4 separate regions of the Homo sapiens genome follow, and all the other regions are linked to region 3. The links are contacts of gene promoters, found by promoter capture Hi-C in blood cells and fetal thymus (Javierre and others, 2016). All regions are on one chromosome and are shown on one strand. Each heading gives the region's core, a stretch centred on a gene start or on the middle of the fragment in contact. The rest is flanking DNA. Distances are from core to core; before and after follow the strand shown. Region 1 holds the start of GATB (glutamyl-tRNA amidotransferase subunit B). Region 2 overlaps LOC127898557 (a long non-coding RNA gene). Region 3 holds the start of TMEM154 (transmembrane protein 154). Region 4 overlaps TMEM131L (transmembrane 131 like).

What was found. Contacts are between HindIII fragments. The CHiCAGO score rates a contact against its expected background, and 5 or more counts as called.
Region 1: the fragment with the promoter of GATB here is called in contact with the fragment with the promoter of TMEM154 in region 3 in 7 of 17 cell types (non-activated CD4 T cells, naive CD8 T cells, activated CD4 T cells and 4 more); the score reaches 10.1 in non-activated CD4 T cells.
Region 2: a fragment that was not itself captured here is called in contact with the fragment with the promoter of TMEM154 in region 3 in 1 of 17 cell types (monocytes); the score reaches 6.1 in monocytes.
Region 4: a fragment that was not itself captured here is called in contact with the fragment with the promoter of TMEM154 in region 3 in 1 of 17 cell types (total B cells); the score reaches 6.2 in total B cells.

Annotation. Positions count from the first base shown.
Region 1 is chr4:151,759,307-151,762,890 of GRCh38, reverse strand. It overlaps GATB (glutamyl-tRNA amidotransferase subunit B), which reads left to right and starts at 1,884. Exons shown (of 13, transcript NM_004564.3): 1 at 1,884-2,084. The coding sequence starts at 1,909. RefSeq lists an enhancer at 1,889-2,168. The HindIII fragment of the contact is 14,733 bases long and covers 1-3,584 here.
Region 2 is chr4:151,858,595-151,862,056 of GRCh38, reverse strand. The region is part of intron 2 of LOC127898557 (a long non-coding RNA gene); the gene reads right to left. Among named protein-coding and RNA genes, the nearest start is that of LINC03074, 96 kb to the left of the region's middle. The HindIII fragment of the contact is 9,737 bases long and covers 1-3,462 here.
Region 3 is chr4:152,678,561-152,681,925 of GRCh38, reverse strand. TMEM154 (transmembrane protein 154) reads left to right here and starts at 1,929. Exons shown (of 7, transcript NM_152680.3): 1 at 1,929-2,056. The coding sequence starts at 1,993. It overlaps LOC105377495 (a long non-coding RNA gene), which reads right to left and starts at 1,841. Exons shown (of 4, transcript XR_939359.3): 1 at 1,622-1,841; 2 at 1,253-1,339; 3 at 786-851; 4 at 264-563. RefSeq lists enhancers at 1,846-2,155, 1,466-2,295. The HindIII fragment of the contact is 2,211 bases long and covers 187-2,397 here.
Region 4 is chr4:153,521,973-153,525,198 of GRCh38, reverse strand. All of the region lies in intron 3 of TMEM131L (transmembrane 131 like), which reads right to left. Among named protein-coding and RNA genes, the nearest start is that of TMEM131L, 57 kb to the right of the region's middle. RefSeq lists enhancers at 1,357-2,197, 2,371-2,420. The HindIII fragment of the contact is 2,349 bases long and covers 607-2,955 here.

The DNA.
Region 1 (3,584 bases), core at 635-3,134, 920 kb after region 3:
TCCTCTGTTGTCCTAACAAAAGTGAAGCCATTTTGTGCTCAGAGGCAACTCTCCTGACCCCTAGTCTGGGCCAGAAAAACCTGAGGAGCTAAATAAGTAAAAGAAAGCTAGCTTACCTAGAGTAAAGGTGGAAAACATGGAAACTCAGAGGGAAGACTCTAGTAAAGGATCTAGAGAATCATCTGAACCTTAAATAAAGGGCAATAATTAGAGAGAAATTTTGGAACAAGTCTCCACCACTCCCTTCCAGTCCCTGTCATTTTTGTCATTTTCATCCTTGGTCAAATGACTGATACTTCTGGTGTGGCAATTTAGAACAGTGATAGTGGATGAAAAAGTAGAAAAGATGGAAAAAATAAATGATGACAATTTTAAGGACAGTAACTAAAGTTTCTTTCTTCCATATGGATATGCAATTGAAGTGTATTAAAGGAAAAGATCAAAGGTTACAGCCAACTAATCAATGGATTATTGATCAATAACTGAAAATCTATCAATGTGAAGTATACAAAATATGCAGCTTTTCCCCTTGCCCTGCTCTATACTCAGAATTAGGCATCACTGATGTCTACTTGATTTCTCCTCTTGAATGTCTCCAAGGCAACCAAACTCATATGTTTTCTTTGCAAACCTGTTCCTTTTCTGGTTTCCTTATCTCGGTGGATAACTTCATCAGCCAGTTGTGCAAACCAGAAATCCAGGAGTTATTTGTTTCTCCTAGCCTTCCACCATCATATCCAATCCATCAGAGTCCTTCAATTTTACTTCCTATATCTATCTCAAACAGATCCATTTCTCTTTGGCTCTGCCACCACCCTAACTCATCATCTCTCCCCTAAACAATTACTGCTCCAAAGGGCATCCACTCCATCCTTTGTCAAATGCATTCTCCACACTGCACTACTTTATTCAACAAATATTTTTAAGGAACCTACTTTGTACTGTAGTGAATAAGACAGACGAGGAATTTGTGGAAATAGAAGATAAACATCAGGCAGTCAAAAGCACTACGAGGACAATCAAAGTCGGGTGATGAAATAGAGAGTGGCTAAATGACTATTCTAGACTGTGTTCAAACACAAGAAATCGGTGGCAGTTTTAACAAGGGGTATTAGTTTTGACACAGGAAAATGAAGGAAGTCCGCTGGGACGATGGTATCTGCTCCTAGCATATAAGGAGTGTGTTTCTGATACTGGCCAATAATAAAAAGGAGGTTAAAATGTACATGAACATTCAATCTAGGGCTGTTTGTCTCCAATTACCTCTGCTTAAACATAGCACTTACTACCTATATGGAAGTATCTTATTTTTGTTAACTTCTGTATGTCTCCCTTCTTTAGAATGTAAGCTCCATGAACATGCGGGCCATAACTGTCTTGATCTCTGCAGTAACTACAGTGCCTAAGAGAACTGAGCCTGGCATTACGGTAGGCATGCAAATAAGTATTTGTTGCATTAACGCACAAATTGCTGAGTGAAGCAGGAGAGTAGACAGAGAATATAACGGATTGGGTTTGGGGGCTGAGGAAGTCTCTGCTGAGCTGTCAAGGTCATTTACTTCCCCTTGCAAGGTTAACTGGGTTATAAAATCCCGGCCACGCTTTAGCACCAAGCATCAAGCGCTCACACTCTAACTTATACACACGCTCACAGCCACAAACCTCTCCAACTCCCCGCTAGGAGGAGTCACACCTCCCCACCCAGAAACCCTCCCACCCTCTCCTCTATTTCTCCTTCCCTCCCCTCTCCGCGGGGTTCCGGCAGGCTTCGAATCACAATGCTCGCCGGGAATAGTAGTCTTCCGGTCCGAGCCTATGGCGTTTTTAATGCATTTCCAGAACTACGCTTCCCAGGGAGCCTCGCGGCATAGTGAGGCTGAGTCACCTGACCAAGACCCTGGAGTTACAATGGCGGCGCCCATGCTGCGCTGGGGCTGCCGTGGAAGACGTTGGGCTTTCGCCCGGGTTGACGGTGGTTCTTGCCACCGAAGAGGGGCTCCGACTGGGTCCACATCCAACCAGATTAGGGGAGAGAGCTCAGTGGCTCAGCAGCCCCTCCACACGGCCCAGAAGACGAGGAAAGGGTATTCTGTTTCATACATTTCTGCCCACCTAACTGTGAGGTGGAACTGCAGGACTGGGGAAATAATGGCAATTACGGCCCAGCTTCTAGACGTTTTGGCTGACGGGAGGGCGTTGAGTTATAACCTGGAGCCCCGAAACCTAAATAAAAGCACAAACAGACTTTCTATCAACTCCGCCCCCATATATAAACCACTGTTTTCAAATAGATGTAGTTGGGGAATTCGCGAGTGTAAAATAGCAAATATTTTCTTGAAGGGTGCACAGACAGAAGAGTGGATTCGGTCATCTTACTAATAGCACTAGCAGTGGGGACGGTGACACGAGAAGCGGGATCATATTTAGCTGATTTTATTTAGCGCTAGTATGGGCTGGCAGCGTTCTAAAGGTAGAAAGGGAGCCTTTACCTACAAGCTCTTGGTAGTGGTGGGTTATTGTCATTAGTCAGAAAACACTAGCTATCTGTGCAGGCGTTTTATGTTGGAATATGTGTGACTAGACCTAGGAGGACGCAGCCAAAAGAAGAGATACTCCCCCTGGTTATATGGAGAGTTTTGCTTATTTGGCCAGATATCCCCTGAACAGCTGTTTATGCTTCATTATGTAAGAATTAAATAGTTTCTCTTTAAATACAGAAACATATGGCAAGTTTCTAATATTTTGTTTATTCTTTGAGACTAGTTGGCATTATTTTTACTTTCAGTTGGAGGAACAGAGGGAAATTGTCCAGAAAGAAGTATTCAGTTTTGTATTCTTTTCGTGAATTAGATTGTTTCCTTGTGAATGGAAAGTACATTTTTTCTCTCATGTAATGGAAATGCAAAAATACTTTGAATGGTGCTTTACTGCATGCAGAATTTCTAATGAGTTCCTACTTTAATTCCCCTCCCTTATGGGCTGTGTTTCCAAACTTTAAAAAGAAGGACTTATTCTTGCAGTACTTCAGATATAGAACTTTATATGTTGAAATGATTGAAACAAAACAAAACGATGTAAAATATGTATATATATATATATGTATATACACAAAATTACTTGGGAGAAGAGCAGGATAGGAACATACATGGATTTCATAGGGAATAAGCACATTTATAAGGACCTGGAGAGGCCTATGTACAGACCCAACAGAGTAGGACTGACCAGATAAGAGAGATTATTATAGCATTTAACAGCTTCTTAGATTTGATAGCAAATAAGCATTAAAAAAGTAACCTGAAATTAGGTCTCAGGAATTGAAAGTGATTTGGGGGACCAAAAATATGCCGCATCAGATGGTTTAGTGTGGTGGAGTTTTGCAAAATTTTTTTAAGAGTATCATTTAGTGGTGATTTATTGTATCTGTGTCTCTCTGGTTATTATACATGCAAACCAAAACATGGTTGAGAATTTCCTTTTTAAATAAGAGACGTGGAACTATTTATCATTATTTCTCTAGTAGTAGAATGTTGCCATTTATGTTAATTCTAGATAATGTGGGAAAGATCAGCTTTCATCATTTACTG
Region 2 (3,462 bases), core at 31-2,530, 820 kb after region 3:
TCACCCTTTGAGTTCTCTGCTCAGATGTCCCCTCCTCGGACCACCCCATCTAAAACAGCCTCCTCCTGCCCCCGCCGGGACTCACTAGCCCCTTATCCTGCTTCACCACAATTATCACTACCAGAGCTCCAAACAGGTAGTTGAAGGAAATAAAATTATAAGTGGAGGACACAACAAAGGCAAAACCCTGGGGCAGGAACACACTGCTGGAGCACAATCCATGAGGGCGAGAGTGTACAAAAATGCTGTCAGAGAGGACACTCAGGACCACGAGGTAAGGCTTTGGATTCTGCATCAATCAGCTCTTGCTGCATGGCAACGACAGATGTTCAGTGGCACACAGCAGCAAGCGTCTCACTGCACATCATCGGCTCAGCCCGGACAGGCCTCCTCCACGTGTTTCATTCTGGGACCCAAGATGCAAAAGGCAGGAGCAACTGCTCTTGTTCTTGTCCTGGCAGTGGCAGACATGAGGAGCGTAAATCCAGCCGCACAGGCTCATGACAAGCATCTGCTGGCGTGAGGGCCACTGCCGTCCCAAGGACAAAGCACATGATGTGACTAAGTCAAATCAAGGGACCGGAAATACACCAGGGCCACGGTGAGGCTGCGGCAGAGTACGAGTTATCAAGTATCATGAAAATGGGGACAGGAATTCATTCTATCACAGGGTAACGTGACGGGGGAGACATTGTGTGTGGGAGGAAGGCATTGGGCAGAGCAGTGGCATGACTGGATGTGCATTTTTTGGCATCCTCTCTGGCTGTTGCATGAACAATAAACCCATTCCAGGGGGCCACAGTGGAGGCAGAGAGACCCTGCTGAAATATATCCAATGATGAGCACCGAACATAGGCTCACTGAGGTCTTGCTGTGTGCCAAGAGGATGTTGACCTTGCCTTAGACACCCTGCATGAAACTAGGGGGGCACCAGGAACCACAGCCTTGAGGAAAGGGATGACATGTTCGGTTTTTATTCCCATGGTACTCCCAGCCCTAGCACAGACCAACTAGATGGGAGACCGAATAAGAAAGCAGGAGGCCCCTGCTCCAGTGCCCAGGTGGCTGATAAAGGCCGCTGTGGACATCATGGGAGTGGAAATAGCCACGCGGTCTGGATGGGAACCCCTGGCGGTACTCATGGGTGTGCAGCGCTCAAAACGAAGGCTGAAAGCAAGGAGGATGGCGTTTGCCTCCTTTTCGCTGTAAAAATAAGACAGCAGGATGGTGAGTCAAAAGAAGCCGGCTGGCTTCACACCCTCCAGAAAGATATGCAAGGGCTTCCCATCTCATCCCATCCCACTTCAACCCTGCGTATGTCACGGCTCAGATCCCCCGACAGAGATGGCAAAGTGAAATGCTCTGAGAAAGCAGCCTTTTGGAAAGCAGACCGTTTTTATAAAAGGAACACATTGTAACCAGGAATTTTTAACTGTGGAGAAATAAACAAGTTCTCTGTGAGAGGGTGGCGACAAGCAGAAGCTGTAGCAAATGTCAAGGCAGAGAGATTCCTGAACTGGGCAGGGTTGAGCAGAGAGGCTTGGTACCTTAGGATCCCCTGGATCCTGGATAGCAGAATCAAGCTGATCAGCAGCCAGGTGGACAGGCAACAGCGTTGATGAGATAGCCTCTTTGTAGCACCACAGAGACTTACAAAAGGACAACATTTTAAGGTCCAAAAGGAAAGCCAAGTTATTCAAAATTTCAAATTAACAGAAATATCAAAAAAATAAGCACACACAACCAAAATGGAAACAGAAGCCATTCAATGTGTCAGATCAAGTCACAGAACTTCTTTCAACTTCAGCTTTTTTCATCTTTAGAATGGGGTGTTTGGACCAAACTACATTTCAACATTTCTTTTACTTCTGAAATTCTATGATCTATTAAAGGGCACCTTGTAAGAAACTCCAAAGAATGTCAAAAACAAAAACAAAAAACTGAGGGCATTCATGGAATGCACAAAGGAATGAAAGAAAAGATAGAAGCGACAATGCATTAATGCTTTGCCTTGCCCTTTACCAAGGAAGATGCATGCCCTTGAAATGGACAGGTTGGAGCATTCAATAAAATCATAGTAGATGCACAGAATGTTCTAGTCTTCTCTGACAAAACAGATATCAATAAATCACCCAGATAGGATGTGATACACCTAGGAATTTCAAATGAATTCATGGGCAGAACTGTGGAACTGTCGACTATGATGTGAGACCAGTTGTTGCAACAGCTGCGGTGCTGCAGGACAGTCGGGTTGCCAATGTTAAGCCTCAGCCTGCTTTTCCAGAGGGGACCCTGGGAAACCAACTGTTAGTTTCTCCCTTCCATACCAGCCAGGCTGCTGGAATAAAGTACAAATTTATCTTTAAATAAAGTACAAAATTGCAGAAAGTTTGAATCAACACACCCATGGAGGCAAACGCAGGATGGGTTCTACATGGAGGAATCAGGTCTGATTTTCAAAGTTCCTTGGGGGTACACAGGGTAAGGGGAGTGAGTCATTTTGCAGGCTTTGAAAATGTCTTTGTCAAGTGTCTACACTAAAACCTGATTATGGGTGAGTAAAGAATGAATGGATCACCATAGGAGTCACAGACTATTCGAAGTGGACAAATAATTAAATTTCAGCAAGGAAAACTGGGTAATAAAAAAGACTCATTTCTTTGTAAAAGGTAAGATCTCTCAGAGGTCAAGAGGTGCCAATCTTTGGTGAATAATTTTATTAAGAGATTTGAAGAACTAGGTGTGCAGTGAAACTCTCAGAGTGGTAGATGACCCCGAGATATTCTAAGTGAAATGGTAAGTCAATAGGAGAGAGCCTTTTCAAGGCTCAACAGAAAGTGGTACAGAAATTTCAACTTCAGGGCAAGTTCAAGTTAAAACACTTTAAGAATAAGCAGTTGTAGAACAATAGCCTAGAAATGACCTATAATGCCAGGAGAAGACCCTGGGAATTATTTGCTCTCCTGAGAACATTAAGCCTAACACAGGACAGTAGCATCCAAAACAATAAAATGCCAGGCACTCCATAAATATTTGTTAAATGAATGAAATGCTGAGCCATCAGAATGATACATTATAGAAAATATGTCCCAAACTTGAACAAAACTATTTGTAACAGGATGTTAAAATGGAACTCTTCTTGCCTCCCCTTTGGCTGACGCACGAAAACAATAGATGTTACCTTCCAAAATGAGACCATTATTTTTTATGGGACTTGGAAAAAGGAGATGGCTGACAATCTCAAAAAGATACATACTGAATGATTCCATAAAATAACAATTATAGAGATGGAGAACAGAGCAGTGATTGCCAGGTTAGGGATGAGAGGAGAAGGGAGTATGCTATAAAGCGGTAGCGTGAGGTCCTTGTGGTGATGGTACAGTTATGTATCTTGAATGTGGAGGTGTTTACATGAAACTACACGTGTGAAATAATTGCACAGATTTGCAAACCACACACAAT
Region 3 (3,365 bases), core at 680-3,179:
GGATTTCTCTGCAGCTCCAGTTTATTTTGTACCTCACTCTGATTTAGTGTTGCACTGCTCAGAAGCAATGCATAGTGCACTTGTTGAAACAGTAATGAACTGTTTGGCCATGTCATGGGGCTCAGCAGAGGTCCACAGAATAAGACAGTCTGTGGTCCAATCCACAGACACCTGACTGCAAAAGCTTCCACAGGGAGCTGAAGTTTAAGATGAAAGAAACGAAGGCTGACAACCTTGCCCTTGACAAACATTTGCCTCCAGCCTGGGATTCAACAATGTTTTAATAACATTTAATAATATTTTAATAGGGCATAAATGGTAAAATGGAGAGAACTCCCAAGCCCTGGGCCTGCTTTCTTGCACGTGTGTGTCACAGCTGCAGAAACACGTGCTTGTACAGGAATAATTGCCACCCCAACTCAGTACCAGCAGGTCTTGGAGCCCGTGATCTATTCACATGCTCAGCAAGTGTTTAATTAATAGTTCTTTCTCTGTTGTTTTCAAATCAATCACCCAGTTTTGAGCACGTCTATTTTCTCCTGCTGTTTGTTCTGTATTGTCACCTGTGGTGCAAAAAGCATATTTTATCAAGAATTGACTTAATTGCCAGTTTAAAACATTAAAGTGCATACTGTAAATCCATTAACAAACTGATCCTTACATGAATCACCAACCTATTTCTTGTGAATAATAACTGAGATAAACAGTGACTAATGACATTGAAAAGCAGCAATGCATTAAAGAAAAATTAACAGCTATGTCAGGGGCTAAGGAATTCCAGTCACCTCATACGTTTGCACCAACCAGATCACTGAAGACAAACGACGGGAAGTCATGACTCAGATGGTGATCTGCAGGGAAAGGTTTAGAGATGAGATGTGTCTGATGCCTCAACACTACCCCTCTCTCCATCTGTCTGTCTCTCTTGGCACCACGATTATGAAACTGCATTCTGAATGCTTAGGCCCTAAACCTAAACCAAGGGAAGGACCTCCAATAGAACACCCAACACACACTAATCTCCACTGTATACTAGACACAACCTTTCTGTATTGTTTCGATTGGATAGGATTTCTACCATTATTCTATTTCGTTTCTGTCCTGTTTTGTTTGTTGTCTGAGAACTTGATTGTCAAGTAAGAAGGAAGGAAGGTGAGATGCAGATTCACCCCTACCTCCACCCTCAGAGCATATTCTCCTTTGGAAATGGACCTTGAAAAGATCATTTCTCTCTGGGGAAGCAGAACATAACCTTAAGGTGTGGGTGTGGCATCCACCTCCATCTGGCGTGGGCCTTGGTGGGAGGAGGGCATTCCAGAGTGGAGAAAGGAGAATGGACCTGGCGGAGAGAAGTGGTCTGGCAGTTTTCTGATGATGCAGTTGTCCCTGCTGTCTGGGCCTGCGCTATCCAACACAGCAGCCACTAGCCACTTGGAGTTATTAAAATTTTATAAAAATTCAATAAAATTTAAATTCCATCAGCACTAGCCTCAGTTCAAATGCTCAGTGGCCAATGTGGCTGATACTGTATCAGACGGCGCAGACTTGGAACATTTCCATCAGGGCAGAAAGTTCTACAGGACAGCTTCTTCCTAGGGTCTAGGCAGCCCCGGAGCCTCACCTGGGGGATAAGCAAAATCACAGAGTGAGAATGCGTGTGGTCCAGGACCCCTCCCAGTCCCAGATACCGAACGACATCTGAGCAAGGGACTCTGTTGCCCCGGGGACGGTTTCAAAAGCTGGAGGCCGGGACTCCAAAGGGCTGGAGAGGCGTGATAATAGAACCAGTGCTTCAACAGCAACTTCTCTTTTGCAATCCTTGCTGGTCTGACAGGCTCCTGCAGAATTACATCACTTCCTAAAAAACAGGCACACACCTCTCCTTCAAGTCAGCACCGACCCAAACAAGCAGGAAACAGGAAATGTTCACGTTTCAGAGAGGCTGCAGCCCGGCGCAGCATCCTGAGCGCGCCTCTGCCGAGGCGAGCGGACATGCAGGCTCCCCGCGCAGCCCTAGTCTTCGCCCTGGTGATCGCGCTCGTTCCCGTCGGCCGGGGTAAGCCGCCTCCACTTCCTACTCCTGGGAAGGAGGATCGCAAAAGCTGGTAGGGTGCCCGAGGCTACAGAACTCTGCCGGGGAGGGTGACACCCAGAAAATCTAATCCTTTCTGTGAAAGAAGTGGAGAAAATTAGAACTCCTTTTTTTGGGGGGTGGGATGGAGAGGGGACTTCGCTTTCGCTGCAGCTGTCTAAACTGGCTACAGCTCTCACTTCATTTAACCCTCTTTCAGTCTTTGTCTTCCAGGAAGTGTGCGTCCCTGTAATTTACCAGCTTTAATGGGCATATTAAGAAAACCATAAACTTTTTGGCAGTTTATGTAAAAAAAAACAAAAGCTTCAATTGGCTGAAACAGAGACATGATTAATTTGCTTTTTATGGTGTGGGCTGAGAAGTCTGCTGATTCCAAAATCTCCTGGAAAAACTGGGGTGTGAAAATTTACTACTAGAAAGCATACTAAAGAAACGACATAAACTTAAAAAAAAAAAAAGGAAACGGGAAATTATCCGAAGAGCTACCAAAGAGCTATGTGTTAGAGGGTAGCCCTCTAACACATCAAGTAAGGTCTTTCATCTACTTTTATTGCACCTTGTTACTTTTACAGATTTTTTTTTTGCATTGATTGTTACTAATGAAGATTTGTTTGAAAAAGTAATATGATTGGAACCAATCAAAGGTATTGGAAAAAACAATATTGAATCTCATTATTATGGGCTAAAAGCAACAACTGATTTACACCCTTGCCAGTTGCTACAACAAGCACAAGCACCTTCAGCTGCCTCTCTTGTTGACTTGCCTTTGGGCAAATACACTGGCTGCCCATTGTTTCTGTCAATGAACACCGACTGCTTCTAGTGTAGGGCAGTATTTACCAAGCAAAAGGAAAGTTCTCAAGCTACAGTTCTTTAGATAGAATGAGGGACATCAGCCCCAACCTAACAGATGTGACAACTTCCTGGAGGTCAGCAGCCAGCACCCAGCCACCCCACTCCATCAATTTCTCTTCCCCTGGGTGTTCTCCATGTGGTCCCCCAGGCATCTGAGGTAGAAAACAAAGTGGAAGGCAAATCATTCCAGCTGAAAAGATGTCTGGTTAAATTGAGTTTAGTGTTCAGAGTGGGTTTGGAAGTTGATGTGTTGTTTTATGCCCAGTGTTTTGGAGCTGGAAGGGAACTTGAAGATGATGCAGCTCAAACCATATTGGGCACACAGGTGAAGAAACAGAGGTGGAAGAAGGGAGATGTCTGGGTCTTGCTGCTAGTCAGCTCTTCTGGCTTCTACTCCAGAGTTCTTTGAGCTCCTCCA
Region 4 (3,226 bases), core at 532-3,031, 840 kb before region 3:
GCCTGATTTGTGTGCACCACTCAAACACATTGGAAAGAAGGAGAATAATCATTATGTATCAAGTCGCATCAACCCATAAACCAGAGAGAAATGCCTGTCAAATACCTGGACAGTGTGCTATTACACTCAGCATCATTACGTATGCTTCACTAGCCAAACAGCAGTGTGGTCCTAAAACACGAGCCATCCAATGAAACTACTTACAGAGATAGCCCCTGCTTTACCTCCATGGAACATTCCTAGAACCCACAACATGAAGCCAATATCATACCTTCCCATGGGAACTACACTGTAATTGAAGGGTTACATCCTGGCCAAAGGCACCAAATAAATCACAGCAATGGCGACACTGCACAAAATCTATGACACAGCTACAAATCCTCTAAATAACATAAAGTGATAAAATCAGGCTTCAACCCATAACATGGGAGTTTTATGTTGGAAGTAACCTTAATAGACCACAGGGTCTAAATTTCTCCTCCTCCAGGCCACGAAATGGAAACCCAGAGGGGTGCTTGCCCAAAGTCAAGGATCTGGTTAAACAGCTGAGCTAAGAAACAAACCTAGGCCTCCTACCAAGCAATCCCATGCACTATTAGACAAGCTTATCTTCTTTACAAAGTCCCTTAAAATAAAAAGCATGCATCATTATTGTATAAACTGTCTTCAAAATAAGACACACATAAAGCTCATAAAAATATAACTCTCCCTTTGACATATTTACCTGCAAACAATGTCAGTCATTAAAACATATATCTGTGTCCTTGATATTAGCAACTATTTTTCTTTTTGGCCTTTTTAAAATTTACAAAGTGTTGTGGGAGAAGACCTGGACTGCCAGCAGGGAGTAGCCCTCGCTTATGGCCTCAACCGACACACACAACTTAGCTGCTGCCCCTCCTTCTGCTGAGAGACCTAGGGCAGGTCCATCAGAGTCCTTGGGCTACATGCCCTGGAAGGGAACTCCTGAGAATGCAAAGCTCTGAGAATGGCAATCCAGAGCAGCCAGGGGCCAAATTCCCCACTAGACTTTGCAGCTAAGACAGGAAAAAAAAAAAAAAAAAAAACAGAAGTGAAACATGGGAAAGACAGAAAACCTAAAGTGAGACGTGCTGGTAAATCAGTTCTCAGCCAGGAGATTGGGTGATGACGACTTTTATTCTCTTTGTTCTTTTCTGAGTTACTTAATCTTCCTACAATAAACATGAATTTTCTAATGAGAAAACTATGTCATGAAGTAAGGGCAGGGCTGATAATCAAACAGAACATGCTCCCTTTATGGAAGGCTGAGGCCTCCTCTGATTAGGTAAAACCTTGGGTATCACCCTGAGTATGGGGTACAAAACAAAATACAACTTGCTATGTAATCTATCAGCCTGACTGCAGGAGTAAAGGTGAGATCTTTTCTGGGTGTGGCCTTGATTTGGAAATATTTTAATTTTCTTTTAACACTAACCGCAGACTTTTCTCCATAATCCCATCAATAATAATATGATAACGATCCATGAAAATTCAACTATAAAACTTGAGGCCAATTAGAAGCACACAACCTCCTGAGTGCTTCCCATTAGCACCCTCTTCAAAACAACTAGCCGACCAGCTCTGCAAATGTCAGCCTTTGCATTTTCTAAAGCCTCAATTCTTCTTCCTCAAAGACTTCCCCTTCTTTTTACCAAGTCTTACCTTCAGACTTATGCCACAGATTTAGTTTCCTCCTAAACAATGTAGTGCTATTTCCCTTCTGAATTTTAAGTTTTGGCTTATTATGCTTCTCTCTGGCCTCCATTCATTCCTAAAATGAATAGCTAGTCCCCTCTGCTAGCTTAAGGCAAACTGCCTAATCTCACGTCTTATAGAAGGAATTCCATTCAACACACAGCAGCCTAGAGGGATACTAGGAAATTCATACGTTTCACAAATACTTCCACTTAAAAGGCAACATACTTCTGGCAGTTTTAAATAACATGGCTTGCCAATGCCTGACATAACATTTGGGAATTATAGTCACAAGAAACTATATTTCAGATTTTATTCTAACATAAAATTCTAAGGGCACAAAAGTTAAAAATACAGGTAATCCTATGGCCTTAAACTATTTTTTTTAAGAACTAAGAAACACAGTACGTTGATGATTAGGTGAGCAAACCAAGCCACAAAAACCTACTCATCCTTAAGTCCTATAAAGTCTAACTACCATGTATCAGAGTGGACTAAGGGAAAACCCAAGCTCTGTAGCCCAGGCAAAGGCAATGGGGATTTCCTCTGCCTGGTCTAGATCACCCAGTGTAACTCAAGGCAGGGCTTCAAGCAACCCATTGCTCAAAGTAGTCTGTGGGCAGTGATAGTGGGAGGATGGGGAGGCCCTCCAGGAAGGGGACTTCACAAAGGATGGGGATGGGGAGGTGAGGTGAGAAATGAAATGGGCTGTGGCACACGATGAGATATGGGAATGACCACCTTCTGGGCAGGCTCTCATTCTTTCATTCCAAGAAGCATTTATTAAAGACTGGCTAGGGCGAGGGAACCCAGCTAGGTGCTGGGGATAAAAAATAAGAAATAACTGAAGGACCTTGCTCTTAAGGAACTCCATCTTACTGGGTGGAGCCAAACGAGAAGAGAGAGCTCGGTAGGGCACCAAAGCGTTCTGGCAGAAATAGCATGAGGCAGGGGGAAGGGTCACGCTTCCTGGAAGAGCCACACAGACCGAGTCCCAGGGAGCCCAGAGGGCGGTCCCTCTGCCCGCAGCACTGCCTTCACGTTTACTTCCATCCCGGTCTCCTCCTTCCCCTAGTGCTTGGCATGCAACATCCCTGCTTCTCACCCACCTTTTATTTAAGTCTCCTATTATCTGCACACAATGGAAGTTAGGACACCTATTTCCTACCAACTTATGAACTTAGAAAGTTGACATTAAAAGGGCACAAAACAGGAACTCAAAACCCACAAGCTCAAGCTTCAAAGGTGAGAACGTCCCATTTCACAAATGGCGGTTGAGGGTTCCCACTTCACCACTCCACGTTTCTCCTCCGGCTCCTTCACCACAGCCTCACAGACCCACACTTGATTTCTCACTCTCTTGAAAATTTACATTCAACAGTTCCTCTCACACCCAAGAAAACCAGAGGTCCCAGGGCAGCACGTGTAAGATTTCACTCTAAACGATTCTGCTTTAAGTTGCAGGCTCAGTAGAAGCACATACACCAAAATAACAAAAGTTATGTTGGGT